Regions from separate parts of the Homo sapiens genome. Here regions 1, 2 and 3 are each linked to region 4. Evidence: promoter capture Hi-C in human tissues and cell types (Jung and others, 2019). All regions are on one chromosome and are shown on one strand. Each heading gives the region's core, a stretch centred on a gene start or on the middle of the fragment in contact. The rest is flanking DNA. Distances are from core to core; before and after follow the strand shown.

Region 1 (5,279 bases), core at 2,028-4,527, 360 kb before region 4:
AATAAATATTAAAATAAAAATAAATGAAAAAGAAAAATAGGTTAAGGAATAGAATTTTACATTTGGATTTTAATACTATTATTGTTGTTGTTGTTGTTATGAGGCAGGGTCTTGCTCTGTCATCCAGGCTGGAGTGCAGTGGTGCAATCTCGGCTCACTGCAGCCTCAACCTCCTGGGCCCAAGAGACCTCCCTGCCTCCACCTCCTAAAGGGCTGGGATTACAGGCATGAGTCACTGCACCTGGCCACATTTAAATTTTAAAACAGAACATTTATTTTATTTTTTTTTTAGGTATATTGCCATTTTTATTTTTTAAGTGTTTTATGTTACATTTTCTTTTTTTTATTATACTTTAAGTTCTAGGGTACATGTGCACAATGTGCAGGTTTGTTACATATGTATACATGTGCCATGTTGGTGTGCTGCACCCGTTAACTCGTCATTTACATTAGGTATATCTCCTAATGCTATCCCTCCCCCCTCCCCCCACCCCATGACAGGCCCCAGTGTGTGATGTTCCCCACCCTCTGTCCAAGTGTTCTCATTGTTCAGTTCCCACCTATGAGTGAGAACATGCGGTGTTTGGTTTCCTGTACTTGCGATCGTTTGCTGAGAATGATGCTTTCCAGCTTCATCCATGTCCCTACAAAAGATATTATGTCATCCTTTCTTATGGCTGCATAGTATTCCATGGTGTATATGTGCCACATTTTCTTAATCCAGTCTATCATTGATGGACATTTGGGTTGGTTCCAAGTCTTTGCTATTGTGAATAGTGCCGCAATAAACATACATGTGCATATGTCTTTATAGCAGCATGATTTATAATCCTTTGGGTATATACCCAGTAATGGGATGGCTGGGTCAAATGGTATTTCTAGTTCTAGATCCTTGAGGAATCGCCACCCTGTCTTGCCCAATCTTTGCACTAGTTTACAGTCTCACCAACAGTGTAAAAGTGAAAACAGAACATTTAAACAGGAATTTTCATCAATAATACAGTACAAACTTTGACAGTTTGTTCAAAAGGGATAGGAAAAAGACAAGAGTGAAAATGAATAGAAAGAATATAACATCTATGTAGTGCAAAGATATAGATTCAAACTAATAATATTCTTGGCTGCATAAATGCTTCAGAACTGAGGGAAAATATCAATATATAGATTCAGGAAGAATCATTATAATGGAACTGCTAAACACCAAAGACAGAGAAAGATCATAAAGGGATCACGGAGTAAAAATATCAACTTCAAGGTAATACAAAAATTAGATTGATAGCTGACTTCTCCAAAGCAACACTGGATGGCAGAATTCAGCAAATAAAAATTATCCTCAAATTACTTACCACACCAAACCAAAGCAAACAGAAAACAATTAATCAAGAATTGTATTCTCCATAAAAATATCTTTTTAACAACAAAGTTAAAATAAAAATATTTTTAAGATAAATAGAAACAGGCCGGCTGCGGTGGGTCATGCCTGTAATCCCAGCACTTTGGGAGGCCAAGGTGGGTGGATTACGAGGTCAGGAGTTCGAGACCAGCCTGACCAACATGGTGAAACCTGGTCTCTACTAAAAATGCAGAAAAATTAGTCAGGTATGGTGGCATGTGTCTGTAATCCCAGCTACTTGGGAGGCTGAGGCAGAGGAATTGCTTGAACCAGGGAGGTGGAGGTTGCAGTGAGTTGAGATCGTGCCTCTGCACTTCAGCCTGGGAGACAGAGTGTGACTCTGTCTCAGAAAAAAAAAAAAAAAAAAAGATAAATGGAAACAGAGTTTCCAAACTACATATACCCCAAATAATTTAAATAGGATATATTTTGAGGTGTGTATGTAGATAAATCTAAACAAACACTGGAATGATAAAACAACAATAATAACTTAATCTGTGAGGTTACAGATAATTAAAACAAGATAGAGATAAGATACAGAACAACCACAAATATTAACTGGGAGGAATATGGTTGAAGTTATAACATTCCAAGAGCACTTACGTTATATGAGAAGAGATACTGAATACATGAGTCTTTGGTAAATACGAAGGCTAAAATTCCAAGGGTAGTCACTCAAAGAATATAGCTCTTTCAAACCAGTGTGAAGAAAAGAAAATGAAATAAGGAAAACAAAAAGCAAATAAACAAAAGAAATGATAAAATTGTATTTCAAGACGTTAAGGAAGACTTAAGTAAGTGAAGAGATCAATGCTATCTAGGGCTTCGTTTCACACACTATTCTATATCTAATATACACAGTACTTGGCCTCTAGAAGATGCTCAATAAGTGTTTGTGGAAGGGAATATGAATAAATGAATTGATGATCTAATACATATAGGACAAAATATTATACAGATATCAACTGGAGGCGATTTTGTATATGAAATAGGAGCTATAAGTTCAAAACTTCCTATTATAATTCAATTAAAAATAAACAAGAACTGTAACATAAGCATTTTTAAAACAATGCAGAATTGAAGCTTTTTTCTTGACAATGGCATGTTAGGTGTTTTCTAATTTTTACCTTTTACATACCATGCTGCAACTTTCTTTCTTGTACATTTAACAATGCACACTTCTCTTAGTATATCTTGTAGGGTATGTGCTCGTTCTAATGGGTGAATCCGTGATTGTGAGCATTTCATATTCCATAGACAAAATACTCTGTTATTGTACTAACACCCTAGCAATTGTGCAAAATATTTCCTATTTTCTTAGTTTCTTGCCAGAATGGATGTTACCAAACATCTTAACTTTACCCCTCTATTTAAAAAAAAATTGCTATTCCATTGTAAATGTATTTGGTGTTTTAATATTGTAAGGTTGAAAATTGTTGCACAGGGATAACCTAAATGAAATGGCTATTCCTAGAAACACACAACCAACCAAGACTGAATCATAAACAAACAGAAAATCTGAGCAGATGTATAATTAGCTAGGAGATTGAATCAGCAATCAAAAACCTCCCAACAAAGAAAAGCTCAGGACCAGATGGCTTCATTGGTGAAGTCTATGGAAAATATAAAGAATTAACAACAATCCTCTTCAATCTCTTCCAAAAAAATGAAAAAGGAGGAAACATTTCCAATTGTATTCTATGAAACCAGCATTACCCTGATACCAAAGCTAGAGAAAGGCACTGCAAGAAAAGAAAACTACAGACCAATATTCTTTATAAATATTGACACAGAAATCCTCAACAAAATACTACCAAACCAAAATCAACAGCATATTGAAAGTGTTATACACCATGACCAAGTGGGATTTATTCTTGAAATACAAGTTCAATATATGAAAAGCAATCAGTATAATACAGCACTTTAAAAAAAGAAAGGATAAAAATCACATGATTATTTCAATAGATACAGAAAAGCATTTGATGAAATTCAACACTCTTCTATGACAAAAACACTAAACAAATTAGCTATAGAGGGCCAGCTATGAAAAGCCCACATCTAACATCATATACAACAGCCAAAGACAAGGCTTTTCCTTTAAGATTAGGTGTAAAACAAGGATGTCTACCTGCCACTTCTATTTAATATGATACTGGAAGTCCTAGCCAGAGCAATTAGACAAGAAAAGGACATAAAAGTAATAAAAATTGAAAATAAAGAAGTAAAATTATCTCCGTTCAAAGCTGACATGATCTCACATGTAGGAAACCATAAAAATTCCACCAAAAAAGAAACTGTTTGAAAGAATAAATAACGTCAGTAGAGTATACAAACTCTACTTGCAAAAATTGGTTACATTTCTGTACATTAACAGTGAAAAAATTTGAAAAGGAAATTAAGAAAATAATTCAATTTACAATAGCGTTAGAAATAATGAAATACTAGGAATAAACTTAACCAAGGAGAAGAAAAGTCTTGTACACTGAAAACTACTAAACATTGCTGAGGCCAAGCATGGTGGTCTATACCTGTAATCCCAGTACTTTGGGAGGCCACAGCAAGAGAATCGCTTGAGTTCGGGAGTTTGAGACCAAACATTACTGAAAGAAATTAAAGAAGACACAAATAAATGGGAAGATATTATGTGCTTATGGGCTGTAGGCTTAATATTAAGCTGTCAATACTACCCAGAGTAATCTACCAATTTAATGTAATCACCATCACAATACTAATCGCATTTTTTGCAGAAATGAAAAAATCCATTTTAAAGTTTATATGGAATCTCAGAAGATCCTAAATAGCCAAAATATCCTTGAAAAAAATGTTGTGTGAGATCTCAATCTCCTGGTTTCAAAACTTATTACAATGCTACAGCAATCAAAGCAGTGTCATACTAGTGTAAAGGAAGACATTTAGACCAAAAGAATAGAATAAAGAGCTCAGAAGCCAACCTTCACATATATGATCAAATAATTTTTGACCAGGGTACCAATACTATTAAATGGGGGGAAAGGGGAGTGTTTTAAACAAATAGTGCTGGGAAAACCAGATATTCACATGCAAGAGAATGAAATTGGACCCTTACCTTACACCATATACAAAAATTTACTCAAAATAAGTCAAAAGCATATACAAGAGCTAAAACTATAAACTCTTAGAAGAAAACACAGGATAAAAGTTTATGAAGTTGGGTTTGCAATGACTTTTTTTTAAAGTTGGGTTTGCAATGACTTTTTTTTTTTCTAAGTGAAAGCAAGTTTATTAAGTAAAGGAATAAAGAATGGCCACTCTATAGACAGAGCAGCCTGAAAAGACTTTTTGGATATGATGCAAAAGCACAGACAACAAAGTAAAAATAGATAAATTGAACTATATCACAGGTATGTTTCAGTCTATTTTTTGACTCATGATTCTATTCTATGGAACTTTTTATATATTTTTACTACACTAGAGCTTTATAAAGAGTTTCTAGCTGTTATATCAAGATAGTCTTTGTTATACTTGGCTGTCCTTATGTAAATACAATTTCAGATGACTGATAATATGCAAAAGAAGAAAAAACTTAAGGAATGTATTACATTTATTGTTAAATTAGTGTAAATATCTTTACAATAATGAGTCTTCCCATTTAAGGACATAGTCAAGTGGTCTTTAAAATATTATTCCTAAAATCATATTTTTCTTCACATAATTCTACTCATTTCTTGTTAGGTTTGTTTCTAAGCATTTTATAGGTTATTGCCATTGGAATTTTTTTTTCCAAATAAATTTGCCTATTAGTTATTTCTTTCATCTAGATTCTACTGATTTTTAAAATTTTTTTACTTAAATTTTTTATGTAGATTTATTAAATTTCAGAGAAAACATTAAAAACTGGATGAAAGAA
Region 2 (5,255 bases), core at 2,042-4,541, 460 kb before region 4:
AGGCAGAGGTTGCAGTGAGCCGAGATGGTACCACTGCACTCCAGCCTGAGTGACAGAGTGACACTCTGCCTCAAAAAAAAAAAAGAAAAGAAAAGAAAAAATCTTGCTGCTCTTACCAAACCAAGTGAGAGGTGACAGCGTGCTGGCAGTCCTCACAACCCTCCCTCGCTCTCGGCACCTCCTCTGCCTGGGCTCCCACTTTGGCGGCACTTGAGGAGCCCTTTGGCCCACCACTGCACTGTGGGAGCCCCTTTCTGGGCTGGCCAACACCAGAGCCAGCTCCTTCAGCTTGCGGGGAGGTGTGGAGGGAGAGGCGCGAGCGGGAACCAGGGCCGCGCAGCGCTTGCGGGCCAGCTGGAGTTCCAGGTGGGCGTGGGCTTGGCGGTCCGCGCACTCGGAGCAGCCGGCCGGCCCTGCCGACCCCGGGCAATGAGGGGCTTAGCACCCAGGCCAGTGGCTGCGGAGGGTGTACTGGGTCCCCCAGCAGTGCCGGCCCACTGGTGCTACGCTGGATTTCTTGCCGGGCCTTAGCTGCCTTCCCGCCGGGCAGGGCTCAGGACCTGCAGCCCACCATGCCTGAGCCTCCCCCAACTCCGTGGGCTCCTGTGCGGACAGAGCCTCCCCGACGAGCGCCACCCCCTGCTCCAGGGCGCCCAGTCCCATCGACCACCCAAGGGCTGAGGAGTGTGGGCGCACGGCACAGGACTGGCAGGCAGCTCCACCTGCAGCCCCGGTACGGGATCCACTGGGTGAAGCCAGCTGGGCTTCTGAGTCTGGTGGGGAAGTGGAGAACCTTTATGTCTAGCTCAGGGATTGTAAACGCACCAATCAGCGCCCTGTCAAAACAGACCACCCCCCCCCCCCCCCACCCCACCCTGCTCTACCAATCCGCAGGATGTGGGTGGGGCCAGATAAGAGAATAAAAGCAGGCTGCCTGAGCCCGCAGTGGCAACCCGCTCGGGTCTCCTTCCACACTGTGGAAGCTTTGTTTTTTCGCTCTTTGCAATAAATCTTGCTACTGCTCACTCTTTGGGTCCACACTGCCTTTATGAGCTGTAACACTCACCGCAAAGGTCTGCAGCTTCACTCCTGAAGACAGCGAGACCACGAACCCACCAGGAGGAACGAACAACTCCAGACGCACCGCCTTAAGAGCTGTAACACTCACTGAGAAGATCTGCAGCTTCACTCCTGAGCCAGCGAGACGACGAACCCACCAGAAGGAAGAAACTCCAGACGCGCCACCTTAAGAGCTGTAACACCCACCGCCGGGGTCCGCGGCTTCATTCTTGAAGTCTGAGACCAAGAACCCACCAATTCCGGATACACAAGCAATGCTGATTGCTTCACTTTGAAAGCTTTCCAGCCGGGTGCGGTGGCTCACACCTATAATCCCAGTACTTTCGGAGTCCGAGGCGGGCTGATCACTTCAGGTCGGTAGTTCGAGACCAGCCTGGCCCACATGGTAAAACCCCGTCCCGTCTCTACTAAAAATACAAAATTAGCCGGGCGTGGTGACAGGCACCTGTAATCCCAGTTACTCGGGAGGCTGAGGTAGGAGAATTGCTTGAGCCTGGGAGGCAGAAGTTGCAGTGAGCCAATATCGAGCCACTGCACTCCAGCCTGGGTGACACAGCAAGACTCTTTCTCAAAAACAAAACAAAACAAAACTTAAAAACTTTCTTTTTTTAAGTGTGAACATCCTCAAACCACACATCCTTGGAAAACCCCATGGGATCACTTCTACTCTCATGATGGTTGTCTTCTCTAGCATCTTGTGGTTACAAAGCATTTCAGGTAAGAGCACAGGCTTTCTGGCCAGGAAGACTTGAGGTGAGTCCCAGCTCTGTCATGTCATAGGTAGGTGACCTAGCTCTTAGCTATTAGGTTGGTGCCATTACTTTTAATGGCAAGAACTGCAATTACTTTTGCACCAGACTGAAAGCCTCTGTTTCATTCAAGAAAAAAGGAGACATTACACTGTTTCTTTCTTCATAGGGTTATTGTGCAGATTGAATGAGATAACGAATACAAAGGATTTAGCACATGCCTTAAAAATGTGTATTAGGTTATATTTTTTAAATGTCAGCTATACAAGTTAGATTACCATTATTTTAACAGTTCGTCTAATTCATTCTTGTGACATCTATTAGTTGTTTTTTATTTAGCCTTTCAGCCACTCTTGTCTCTCTGACTTGTTTGAAAGCCTTTAAAGCTTGGATCGTGTTTTGTTCCTTTGTATCCTCTTACACATAGCACAGGTTTTCCAAAAATATTTGTTGAGTTGATTTCATTTCATAATGTGTTCTCTTTAAATAGCAACCAGAAGCACAATTCAAAATAAACTGTAGATTTTGATAATGAATTTCTTTTCTTGTGATTAGTGGCTCTTTGTCTTGCTTTTGTCCTGAGCCTATGTTTTGAGATAACACTTGGGGGCAGCATTGAGTCAGTCTGCACTTCCCCTGTTGTGAACTAGAAGGAAATATGAAATCCAAAGGTAGGGGCTGACAGATAGGAAATGAATGTCTCCAAATACATCAGTAGCTTTAAAATGACTGTGCACTTTGCTACAGAAATCTATTTAAAAGCAGCACACCCTTCTGCAGATCTCAGGGGAGCTCTTGAGGATAAATGACTTGTTTTCTCTCTAACCCTGGGGGGCAATACAAACTGTAAGATGTTTAACCATTTACTCACACAGCAAAATGGAGCAAACCTACAAGCTACATTATAAAGGAAGATAAATTTAGCATGCATTTATGATGTGAAAAAGCACAGCTACTGCTCTGGTTGTTTAAATACTACATCAGTAATTGCAGTCCATTAAGTCAGTTAAACAAAACAGTGAATTAAAATTTTCCATTAGCCAGATTTTTTGCCCTACAACACTAAAGAGAAGAAAGGTAAATGTAGTAGCACAGCAAGTTGATAGCAGAGGTTCATTTGGTTAAGCAACTTTTTAAAACGTCCTATGCCCTGCACAGATGTTATCCAGTCTCCTATAGCCACAATTACATCACTACAAATATATGCTTAGATAATCTATCAATGTTCAGAATCTTTGCCTCTAGGTACTGCAAGATTCTTACCAGTTATAATAAAACTAGTGTGCCAATTATCTGATAAAACAAAGTACACTTGGTTGTTTCCAAAAAAAATTTTTGTAATGGTACAAAAAAAACTCATAGAAGACACTTTTTTTTTTTTTTTTTTAGCAACTTGGCCCTGTCTCTACCTCTCACCAGAATCTGAAGAAATTGCATATATTTTTGTACCAACAGGGTTCCTATGAAAACCAAATGGAAAAGTACAATAGGATACACCAGTTTCTTCACAGGTCCACAACCTAATTTGTGTTATACCTATTCCCTGATTAGTTACAGAGGTATTTATTCTTTATTTGTTCATTCAACATTCACTGAACATCCAATATGTGTCCAGTACTGGGAATATAAGGATGAATAACACATTATCTATGTTTTTAAAAAGTTCAGTCTAGGAGAAATGAACATACAGACATACACACATCTGCAAATAATTGCAATCACACTGATTTCTTTTGGGCCTGGAATCTCTTATTCTTTTCATAGCTAAACAAAATAACATCTCAGAGTGTAATCTCAAAGAACATAAATCTCTACTTTATGGAAGAGGAAAGTGAAGTCCACAGACAGTAAAGGACATGACCAACCAGCCAGTTAGTGCAAAGCCAATAAAGGAACTTGTTGACTCCCAACCGATGTGTTTCCACCACATAATATTATTACCCTTTTATATGGTTTGGCTGTGTCTACCCAAATCTCATCTTGAATTGTAGATCCCATAATGCCCATGTTGAGGGAGGGACCTGGTGGGAGGTAATTGAATAATGGGGGAGAGTCTCGTGATAGTGAATAAGTCTCACAAGATCTGATGTTTTTATAAAGGAGAGTTCCTCTACACACGTTCTTTTGCCTGCCACCATGTAAAGATGTGCCTTTGCTCCTCCTTTGCTTTCCGCCATGATTGTGAGGCCTCCCCAGCCATGTGGAACTCTGAGTCAATTAAAACTCATTCCTTTATAAATTACCCAGTCTCAGGTATGTCTTTATTAGCAGCATGAGAACAGACTAATATACCCCTGCATGTGAGATTGTTGAGATAAGGCATTATAGCTTGTATGTCCTTGTATTTTCGAAGTCTCTAGTAGAAATCTTTAATAAACATTTATTTATTGACTTTAATATCTCTCCTGCTGTCATCTGTCCAGATATAAATCTCACCATTATGAAAGCTTTCATAAGGCAGCTAACTTTTAAATTGTTTAGTCTTTGAGATTATTCTCAGTTGACCAAAGCAGACATTTTCCTTTCACTAATGCTCAATTTCCCAAGGCTTGGCCTTGGGAATTGATTGAGGACAGGCTAATAATGGGCATTCACATATGAGTGCATCTGAATTCGACCTTGCATTACCTTTCATACTTTTCCACCTACTTCCAACCAACAAGATCTCTCTATTTATATTCTGGGGATTTAACATTTAAGGCCAAATCACAAAAAGCCTGTTGGGTAGTTTGTGCTTCTGCATATCTAGTAGTATGCTGGAAAATATTTAATAATAGATCTAGGAGAGGAAAAAAAGGCCTGATAAATAGCATTTGCCAATTTCCATGGTGTAAATACTTTCACCATGGTAAATTTCATCCTACCAATGTATCAGTGCATACTGAACTCAGCACAGAGAAGAAATATACACAATCTGCTCTCACTAATCAGTGCAAGCCAGCTCCAGCTAACAACTGCCCCACTGCTCTCAACATGAAGACTCAGCAGTGATCTGTCCTCACTTCTGCTGCCTGACGCTCTTGTCATTGCTTAGCTATATGAGAGACTGCTAGGTTCGGCTTGTAGGGTTGGTAAGTGCAATCAGCAATAGGCCTGATTGTAAGACAGATTTTGAACTTGGTAGGAATATAGGGGGAGAATCAGTTATTAAACTAAATTAACCCTTTTCCTGTTTGCTCTGGGAATACTTGCCGGCGGGCTTTCAGCTGCAGTGTTTACCCCAAGATAACTTTGCCACAAAATATCTCACTTTTATTATTATTTTTGCATCACTCTGGTATATCGACTTGAGAAGCAAAAGACATCATTCTATTTATAGCATTCTGTTTTTAGTAGTAGTATTTCCATTTACAAAACACAGTAATTCTCAACCACTGAAAATGTCAAATCCTAGAAAATGTAGCATTCCTACACATGATGTTAACA
Region 3 (4,601 bases), core at 328-2,827, 490 kb before region 4:
CACCCAACAAGTACATTACCTAACAAACTCTAGGTCTCAGTTTCTTTATCTATAAAAGAGGATAATAATTTTACCTACCTCATTTTTTTAATATAAAATGGATAAAGTACTTAAAACAATACCTGAGACATGGTATGTGGTCAATGAATGTTAGTGCTAATAACACTGATGATTATTACTATTATAAACACAGCAAACATAAAGTTAAAAGAGAGTTAAGATTACCAAGGAGCAGATGAAATGACTGATAGTTGCTTATTGTTGTGGTGGTGGTTTTGTTTTGTTTTTCAGACAAAATTTTGCTCTGTTGCCCAGGCTGGAGTGCAGTGGCACAATCATAGCTCACTGCAGCCTCAACCTCCTGGGCTAAAGTGATACTCCCAGCTCAGCCTCCTGAGTAGCTGGGACTACAAGCGCATGCTGCTATGCCTGTTAATTTTTGTATTTTTTGTAGAGATGGGGCTTCACTCTGTTTCCCAGGCTGGTCTCTAACTCCTGAGCTCAAGGGATCCACCCATCTTGGCCCCACAAAGTGCTGGAATCACAGGCATGAGCCACTGCACCTGGCTAGTTGTTTTTTTTATTTCGAAGCTTTACCTTAAAAATCTCTTTGGACTGAGAAGTAGGGCTTTTCCATGGTTGAAAGTCCAAATGTTTGGTAACAGAGTAGGATGGCTGTAGTTAGCAACGGTGTATTGTATATTTCAGAGTAGCTAGAAGAGAGAACTTGAAATGTCCCCCCACACATATGAATGATAAATACTCAAGGTGATGGGTACCCCAAATACCGTGACCTCATCATTTCACATTCTATGCATGAAGCAAATATCACATGTACTCCGTACATACGTAAAAATATTATGTATCAATTGTTGCCCTGCCTTTACCAGGTCAAAACACAGACTGAAAGCAGCATCCAGACATTCTTAATGACTCCTAGCAATCTTCCTTGGGCTGTGGATGAGGAAAGGGGACCCAGAAAGATACATACCATAAATATTTGCAGGATTCTTAGAGACTAGTAAATAAATTCAGGATTGTTACCTAGAGAGAGATGCATTTAGAGTTTGAGGCTTTAATCTCATAAAAATAACAGATTGAGGCATCCAAAAATTAAACCCGTGCCGTGGAGGAACAGGGCTGTGCCATAGAGGGTGTTTAGAGACCAGCAGAGTAGTCTACCCTTTGTTTTATTTCAGAATGTCACATCTAAAACAGTAAAGATCCTGCCGTCTTGCTCCCAGATGATATGTAATTGTTCGAAAATAAGAATAATTTTTCATCATGGAAAGATATCCTACTCAGGTGGGAGGAAATGGCTCTTCTTTCTGGAAGGAGGAGTTACAGCAAATAAAGAAATCATGTGGTACATATACACCACGGAATACTATGCAGCCATAGAAAGGAATGAGATCATGTCCTTTGCAGGGACATGGATGAAATGGGAAGCCATTATCCTCAGCAAACTAACACAGGAACAGAAAACCAACACCACATGTTCTCACTCATAAACGGGAGCTGAAAAATGAGAACACATGGACACAGGGAGGGGAACAACACACACCAGGGCCTGGTGGTGAGGTGGGAGGATGGAGAGCATCAGGATAAACAGCTAATGCATGCTGGGCTTAATACTTAGGGGATGGGTTGATAGGTTTAGCAAACCACCATGACACACATTTACCTATGAAACAAACCTGGACATCCTGCACATGTGTCCTGGAACTTAAAATAAAATAAAATGTTTTTAAAAAGGAAGTCATGGCCTTGTTACCTTCCAGATCAAGAAGAAAGGTAAACTTAAAATATTTTAACCATGTGACACCTTACTTTGTCATCAGCTGTGGTTATACATAGAGCTTCTTAAGTAGCATTCCCGATTATTATGAGAGATTTTTTTGTAAGATGTAGGAGTACAGGCACAGAAAGGGAGACAGTTTGGGTTGTTTTTATCACGTAAGAAACCTGTTCAGAAATCAGAACTAATATTCCAGGCAGCCACACTTTATTATTTCTGAAAATTACTTTCCTTGCTTAAGGCTTTCTTGTCAGACTTTCAGAAATCACAGACTTAAGTTTCTCTAAGATGTCCTGCTATGCTCCTAAAGCCTGAGGACTTCATTAATGGCTCTCCCAGGTTTGCAACAACTTCTTCTTAAATCTCCTGGAGAGTGCACGCTCCTGAACATACACAACGTGTCCAAAGATTTTGACACTAAGAGTCACCTCTTTTAAAAAAAAAAGAAAAGAAAAACAAAACAAACAACAACAAAAACAAGCAACAAAAAAGAAAGCTTGTTTTGACTTTTTTGAGACCACATTCTTCTAGTTTTTTTACAACTTCTTTTAAGGTGCTGCTGAAGCGGCTTCCTTGTCTGGGGTGATACCCGAGATTCGTTGTCTCAAGGCCACGGAAAACTAGCACGTGAACACACAAAGAGTGAGCTTCAGAGTAGAAATTTAATAGGCGAAAAAAACAGAAGAGCTCTCTGCTGCAGAGAAGGGTCCCAAGAAAATGGGTTGCCAGTTCCAAGGTGAAAAGGGTTTTATAGATGAGCCTGTAGAGGCGATGTCTGATTTAGATAGGGCACAAAAGATTGGTTGGACCAGGTATGCCATTTGCATAGGGTGAGAAAAACTGGTTAGGGCTGGGTGTGTCATTAGCAGAGGGCATGAAAAGCTGTCTGCGCTCACCCTAATCTTTTACTATGCAGATGGGTTCTCTATCTGGCCAGCGCCATGTTGCCCATCTCTTTATTGCACATGTGGTAACAAAAAAGGGAAGATGGAACCTCCATGTTGGATATGCCTGGCCACCAGGTAGCCCTCTTCTATTGGCACAGCTGCCGGCATTCTCCCGTGCAGGCTTCCAGCTTGCTTATCTATGTTTGCAGCTTGATTTTTCAGGCTGCTCTTTGTTGGAAAAAAATAATTTCTTGGGCTGCTTTTTGTTAACAGGGAAGCCTTGCCGAGGACTCTTTTATCTTCACTATCTGCCTAAATAATTTTTTTCCATCTCCTGCATCACTGTTTCTCAATTTGCTATACGAACCATTGTTTCCAGTAAGGTTGCAGAATTTGGGGTAAGGAAGATTCTGTTATCAGCTCTTTATTTACACCATGCAATCGCCAGTCCAGCCCTGCCCCTACTGTCCGGGCAATCACTGTTCTGATATTTTCCTACTGTAGATTGGTTTGGGCTATTGTAGAATGCCATGGAAATAGAAACGTGTAGTGTGTACTTTTTCAGTAATAACCTGCAGGTAACAAATACTCTATTTCTATCATTTTATTCAAGCAAAATGACATGAATGACTGAAAAAGCATGTGGAGCACAAGACTCAAGAACTAAGTGAAAGGACTCACACTTCCTGATTTCAAGTAAAGCTACAGCAATCAAGACGTGGCATTGATGTAAGAATAGACACATCAATGAATGAAACAGAATACATCTTCCAGAAATAAATTCACACAAATATAGTCAAGAGGTTTTTTGTGTGCTAAAGTGTATATAATATTTACCATTTTAACCATTTTTAAGTGCACAGTTCAGAAGCATTAAGAATAAACAATGTTGTATAACCATCACCATTATCCAGTTCCAGAATTTTTCATCACCTCACACAGAAACTCTGTACCTATTATCAACAATAAATTTTCATTCCCCCCTTGCCCTCAGTCTCTGGTAACCACTATTGAACTTTCTGTTTCTATGAATTTGCCCCTTCTCAGTGCCTAATATGAGTGGAATAATACAATATGGGTCCTTTGTGCCTAGTTTATTTCACTTACTGTAATGTTTTCAAGGTTCATCCATGTTATAATATGGATCAGAATTTTATTTCTTTTCAAGCATGAATAATAGTCCATGGTATGTCTATACCACATTGTTTATCCATTCATCAGCTGATGGATATTTGGGGGTTGTTTCTATCTTTTGGCTATTGTAAATGATGATGTTATGAACAATGGTGTATAATGTCTGTTTGAGCACTGCTTTGAATTGTTTGGGGTATATACTTAGGAGCGGAATTACTGGATCATATGTCAATTCTATGTTTAATTTTTGAGGAACTGTCGAGCTGTCTTTCACAGCAGCTGCATAATTTTACATTCCCACCACAATGCATAAGAGCTTCAGTTTCTCAAAATCTTTACCAACATTTATTTTTCTTTTTAAAAATATATAATAGCCATACTAATAGTATAAAGTAATATTTCATTGTGCATTTGATTTGCATTTCCCTAATGATAACTGATGTTGAGCATCTTTTCACGTGCTTGTTGACCATTTGTATATCTTCTTTTGAGATATGTCTAATCAAGTCCTTTGTCCATTTTTTAATTGGGCTGGGTATTATTCTTCTGTTATTGTTGAGTTGCAGGAGTTCTTTATATATTCTGCATAAAAGTTCCTTATCATATATTGATTTTCAAAATCTCTCTCCTATTCTATGGGTTGTTTTGATTTTTTTTTTTTTTTTGCTTTCTCAACAGTGTCCTTTAATGTGTAAAATCTTTTAATTTTGATGAAGTCCAGTGTATCTACTTTTTTCTTTTGTTGCCTGTGATTTTGTTGGCATTTTCAATAAATCACTGCC
Region 4 (5,099 bases), core at 1,711-4,210:
AATGTTTTAAGTGAGAATAGAAAAGAGAATGGCAAAGGCTTGGTGAATGCTTGGTTGCAATATTTTTGTGTTCTTCCGTGGTTGTTTCCTCTTTTTCTTTCCATCTTCCCTTCTTTCTCTGTCCTTTGACATTTAAGCACGGGAAGGACACAGGAAAATGTGTGCCAGACACTCTTCTTTGGGTCAGCCTGAGACCCATATGTTGGTAAACCAGACACCTAAGGAAACTGTCCCTACAAGTCGGAGGATTGGGTCTCTCGCCCCTCATCTGAGGAAGGGCCTTCCAAAGCGGCCGCCTTCCCTTCCCATTCACTGGCTGCCTCCTTTGTGAACTAATGACTGTAATTATTACCTCCCAGAGCTCTTTTGTTATCTCCAACCCCAAGCCCCGGAGAGGGGGAATGGGCTCTTTAGTGAAATGAAAGTCATTACAAAGCAAATTACCGTCTAGGGAGGGACAGCCTTCAGGAAAGACAAATCAGATCTCCATCTGCATCTGAAGTAGGGTGTGTTTAAATAAAAAATGTAAATATCACCATTAGATCCAAAGTACTCCAGAGCTGTGGGATTTAATGGAGTTTAAACGGTAGCACTTGAAGCCATTGCTTTACCAAAAAGAAAAAAAAATCAGTTAAATTCAGGTGTTTTAATCCGTTTCTTCTTTGGGGGTTTTGTGTGATTTAAACGCTTGCTTTTAAGAACCTTTATGTTTTCAACCACTCATCCATAGTAGAAAAGTTCTGCAACCCTAGACTGCTGGCTTGAAGGAAAACCTTTGCAGGATTTGATATGGATTTCAACAAAGAACCAGCCTCTGCGAGGCTGGAGAGAGCTGCGGAGCTGCCATGCCTGAAGTGCAGATGGCTGAACCACAAGTCTTTAGGTTTCCGGAGTTGTTATTGTGGTGACCTAGAGTGTCAGAGCCAGGAGAGCAAGAAAGAGGAGCCAAACTGAGCCCTGAGTTTTCGACCACCCGGGCTCCCACAGCCTGGAACAGACTTCACCTAGCACGCTCAGTGCCAGCCTTCGGCAGGACGCTATCAACGCCCGACTGGTTTCCTGCTCTCATCCTGGCGCCTGGGCCCAGTTGCCATAGTGTGGATCCCATGACTCCTCAGGGAACCCCTGGACTCAGGCACGCGAGAAGAAGACAGCGCTTTGTGGAGAGAATTGACCAGGGACAGTTATGCTCGAGCACACAGGACTTGGGCCTGTATGCGTCCAGCATGGGCCCCAGGATGTCCCTTCTAAGCGAGGGTCGAGGGGTGCTCGCCCAGACGGGATCCCCGGGTCTCTGCTTTGTTAGCAGCTTTGGTGGCTGGTTCAGGAGGTCAGAGAAATAAAACGACTTGTGAACACAATGGAAATGACAGGCGCTCTGGCCAGGCGCGGGGAAGGCAGCCGCCTCGGGAAGCCGACCTCAGCCCTTTCCTCTCTCTCCCTCCCTCCGTCTCCCCCAGAGCCCCGGAGCTCCGAGGTGCACTTGAAGTTCATCTCCACTGCCAGGAGAACGCAGCGCAAACTGTCAAAGGGCTCCCAATCCTTAGGGCGTCCTCCCTGTCTGCAATAGCTTTTTGTAGAAAGGAAATCATCAGAACGATTCTGACTTTCTCCTCCTTTCTTTATTAGAAAAAGAGAAACCGCCTCCTAATACGCCTCAGAGAGAACCAATCTCGCGCTTCCGGGTCACCCGCTACCGCGAAGATTCTCTGGGGGCGAGGGGGGGCATTGGTTTGAAGCCCCTTAAAACGAGGGCCCTGCAGGCGATGCCTTCTTTCCTACTCGGATTTGTAAAGCCGAGATTGCTTAGTTGGAAACCCTGTTCTCCCCTCCCAGGCGCACACAGATCCCCCTTACACGCAAGCAGCGGGCGCTTCCACGCCTCCGCGGGCCAAGGTCACCAAATGCCCTGATTCCATCCCCCACCCGCCATCAATCCTGCCGACTCTGGCCGCTCTGCCTCATTCTCTTCCAAGAAGTTTCCATTCGTTTTATTTTTTTTTCCCCAGCCCGAGGTCCTCAGTAGACTCCAGCGTGGATTTTAATTGCCTCAATCAGCAGTCATTCTCCCCAGCCGTCACTCAGAGCCTGGACGGTGGGTCCCGCGATCTAGCCCTTGGCTACGCAGGAACGGTGCGCCCCCGGGTACGGCGCGGTTCAGCAGGCAGGCGTCAGGTTCTACCAAGGCGCTGAAATGAGCCCATCAGCGGGTAGGAGCCCTTCCCCCGCCGTCCCCTCCCCAGGCTCGTGAACGGCGCCTGATGCCCGCCCGGGGCGCGAGCTCTCGAGGTCGCAGTGACCTCAGCACCTGCTTGGAGGAAAACGGCGCGGGAACCCCGCTTCCTTCCCCTCAGCTGGAGCCAGACCTCAAACAAAACCCCAATCGATGCACACAGAAAACTCCTCTGGGCCACGCTTCCCGCCTCGCCGAGGTCTCCCCAGTCTGCCCCTCGCTGACGCTGGCGCGCAGCGGCTGTGGCAGCACCCGGGACAGCGGCCGCCCGCACTTCCCGCCTCTGGCTCGCCCGAGGACGCGCTGGCACGCCTCCCACCCCCTCACTCTGACTCCAGCTGGCGTGCATGGTCTGCCTCGCATCCTCACGACTCAGCTCCCTCCCTCTCTCGTGTTTTTTTCCTCCGCCGCCCCCTCATTCATCCCCACTGGGCTCCCTTTCCCTCAAATGCTCTGGGGCTCTCCGCGCTTTCCTGAGTCCGGGCTCCGAGGACCCTTAGGTAGTCCCGGTCTCTTTTAAAGCTCCCCGGCTTCCAAAGGGTTGCCACGTCCCTAAACCCTGTCTCCAGCTCGCATACACACACGCACAGACACGCACGTTTTCTGTTCCTGCGTGACACCCGCCCTCGCCGCTCGGCCCCGCCGGTCCCCGCGCGGTGCCCTCCTCCCGCCACACGGGCACGCACGCGCGCGCAGGGCCAAGCCCGAGGCAGCTCGCCCGCAGCTCGCACTCGCAGGCGACCTGCTCCAGTCTCCAAAGCCGATGGCATCTCCGGGCTCTGGCTTTTGGTCTTTCGGGTCGGAAGATGGCTCTGGGGATTCCGAGAATCCCGGCACAGGTAGGAAGGAGAACGGGGGCCTGCGGCGGGCGAGTTTTGCGGTGGTCTGGGGTTTGCGGAACTACGGAGAAGACGAAGGAGGTTTTTCCACCTGCAACAGGAAACTTCTTCGGGCGCTTCTCCCTGCTTTTGGGCTAAGTCCTTGACGGCCCAAGAGCTCAAGACCTCTACAGCCTCTTGTACCCTGGGAAGACGCCCAAATAGTCTCAGGCCCGTTCCACAGAAGGTTGGAAGAGCCCCCCAAAGACCGCGGTGTCTCGGGGACATGGAATTCCGTGGTCCTGGGGCGCTGCTAAGATCCGGGTGTCTGGACCCTGGGGTGGGACGGAGTGACCGTGAAGATAGAAAAAAAAAATGGGAAAGGTGAGAGATTTCTTTATCTAGAAAGACAGTCTGCGAAAAAATGGATAGCTTCAGTGTTTAGGAAAACTCGTCCAAGGTAGGCAGGGAGAGGAATTTGCCTGAGCCGATTGGCACCTGGAAGGGCAGCGGTGTGGGCTTCTCCTCGGGAAACAGATAAAGGAAATGAGGGCTGGCCCGGGCCGCCAGCCTCCCGCTTGCCTTCTGCACCTGCCGGCCTCACCGAGTCCTGAGCGGCCCCCAGGAGGAAGGCGGCCCCTCCTAGGACCCCGGACTGATTGATTTTCACATAGAACGAAATTTCACACGTCCGTCTGTTGTTCTCTTTCTGCCTCGCTGTCTGCCTGCCTATTCTTCCTTGCAGCGCGAGCCTGGTGCCAAGTGGCTCAGAAGTTCACGGGCGGCATCGGAAACAAACTGTGCGGTGAGTGCCCAGGGACCGGGGCGGCCAAGGTCGGCCCGCGGGGTCCAAGCAGTCTTCTCACCTCCGCATCCCAGTCAGCGGAGTCGGGGTTTCCTGGCTGCGGGTAGGCGGGAGCGAGGGAGCCGGGCCCGGCGGAGGATTGACGAGGCCCGCGTTCGGTGTCCTTACCCAGCCCTGCTCTACGGAGACGCCGAGAAGCCGGCGGAGAGCGGCGGGAGCCAACCCCCGCGGGCCGCCGCCCGGAAGGCCGCCTGCGCCTGCGACCAGAAGCCCTGCAGCTGCTCCAAAGTGGATGTCAACTACGCGTTTCTCCATGCAACAGGTAAAGACTCAGCGGGGAGCCCCGGGGCGCCCCTGCCCCTCTCTCTGCCCCGCCCACCGCGGCCGGTGCGGGTCCGGCGCTGAGAGCCGGACAGGGGCGTCGAGGTGGCAGCGGAGGCGGGACCTGCCAGAATCTTCAGATAAAAGCGAGAAATGCGGGACCTGCCCGCTGGGTCCAAGCCCCCGAACCTGGCCTCGGAGCTCCAAGAGGGCTCTGAGGCCGTGGCGCTCTTCCCCCAGCGCGGCCCTTGGGATGGCGGGTGGCCGACGATCCAGGCGCTCGTGCGCTCACTGAATCGATGACGGCTGGCTTCCCTAGGCCGCTGGGGCCTCGGGTGGGACTCAGTTTCCAAATACCGTGCCCGAGAATTCAGAATTGCATTTTTTTTAGGTCTTTAGATCACGAGAGTGATTTGTAGCTGCAATTGCACAAGAGAACGATTCCATTCACATGAAACCCGCGCGCCGAGTTTTACCCCCGTGCACTTACACACCGTCTCCCAAATGTACGCGCGCACACACACATGCAGACACACATGCATACGCTCTCTCTCTCTCTCTCACACACACACACACACACACACACACACACACACACTGACTTTAGAAACAGCGGGCCTTCCTATCAGACCAGAGATCCTAATGCACCTGTTCCACTTTGGTTTGCCCGAAGGCATTCGAGACAAACACTTCTGACGTGAAATATTTATGTAAACATGTAAGATGGTTTACTGAGAAACACGTTTAAGACGAACTCCTGTGAACTAGATAAACGGAGGTACACGCTCTTCAAAAAAAGAAGGCAAACAATATAAGTTATGAATTGAAATGCAGTAATTAATTTGGGGAAGAGAAGAAATCATAATTTATCTCATTCATTCCCTTCACCTTTGAAAAATGTCTCCCTTTTAAAGAAAAATGT

Evidence for each region. Contacts are between HindIII fragments. The study calls those that stand out against the background at their distance.
Region 1: a fragment that was not itself captured here is called in contact with the fragment with the promoter of GAD2 in region 4 in 1 of the 25 tissues and cell types used here (H1 embryonic stem cells).
Region 2: a contact is called between a fragment that was not itself captured here and the fragment with the promoter of GAD2 in region 4, in 4 of the 25 tissues and cell types used here (H1 embryonic stem cells, dorsolateral prefrontal cortex, heart right ventricle and 1 more).
Region 3: a contact is called between a fragment that was not itself captured here and the fragment with the promoter of GAD2 in region 4, in 2 of the 25 tissues and cell types used here (H1 embryonic stem cells and mesendoderm cells).

What each region holds. Positions count from the first base shown.
Region 1 is chr10:25,856,282-25,861,560 of GRCh38, forward strand. No RefSeq gene overlaps it. Among named protein-coding and RNA genes, the nearest start is that of MYO3A, 75 kb to the right of the region's middle. The HindIII fragment of the contact is 4,703 bases long and covers 927-5,279 here.
Region 2 is chr10:25,755,693-25,760,947 of GRCh38, forward strand. No RefSeq gene overlaps it. Among named protein-coding and RNA genes, the nearest start is that of LINC00836, 110 kb to the left of the region's middle. The HindIII fragment of the contact is 4,242 bases long and covers 1,171-5,255 here.
Region 3 is chr10:25,728,323-25,732,923 of GRCh38, forward strand. LINC00836 (long intergenic non-protein coding RNA 836) reads left to right here. Exons shown (of 3, transcript NR_108068.1): 3 at 3,299-4,601. Among named protein-coding and RNA genes, the nearest start is that of LINC00836, 79 kb to the left of the region's middle. The HindIII fragment of the contact is 3,757 bases long and covers 1-3,456 here.
Region 4 is chr10:26,213,814-26,218,912 of GRCh38, forward strand. It overlaps GAD2 (glutamate decarboxylase 2), which reads left to right and starts at 2,961. Exons shown (of 16, transcript NM_001134366.2): 1 at 2,961-3,072; 2 at 3,797-3,856; 3 at 4,029-4,178. The coding sequence starts at 2,997. RefSeq lists enhancers at 1-542, 543-1,108, 1,109-1,675, 4,285-4,913. The HindIII fragment of the contact is 8,096 bases long and covers 1-5,099 here.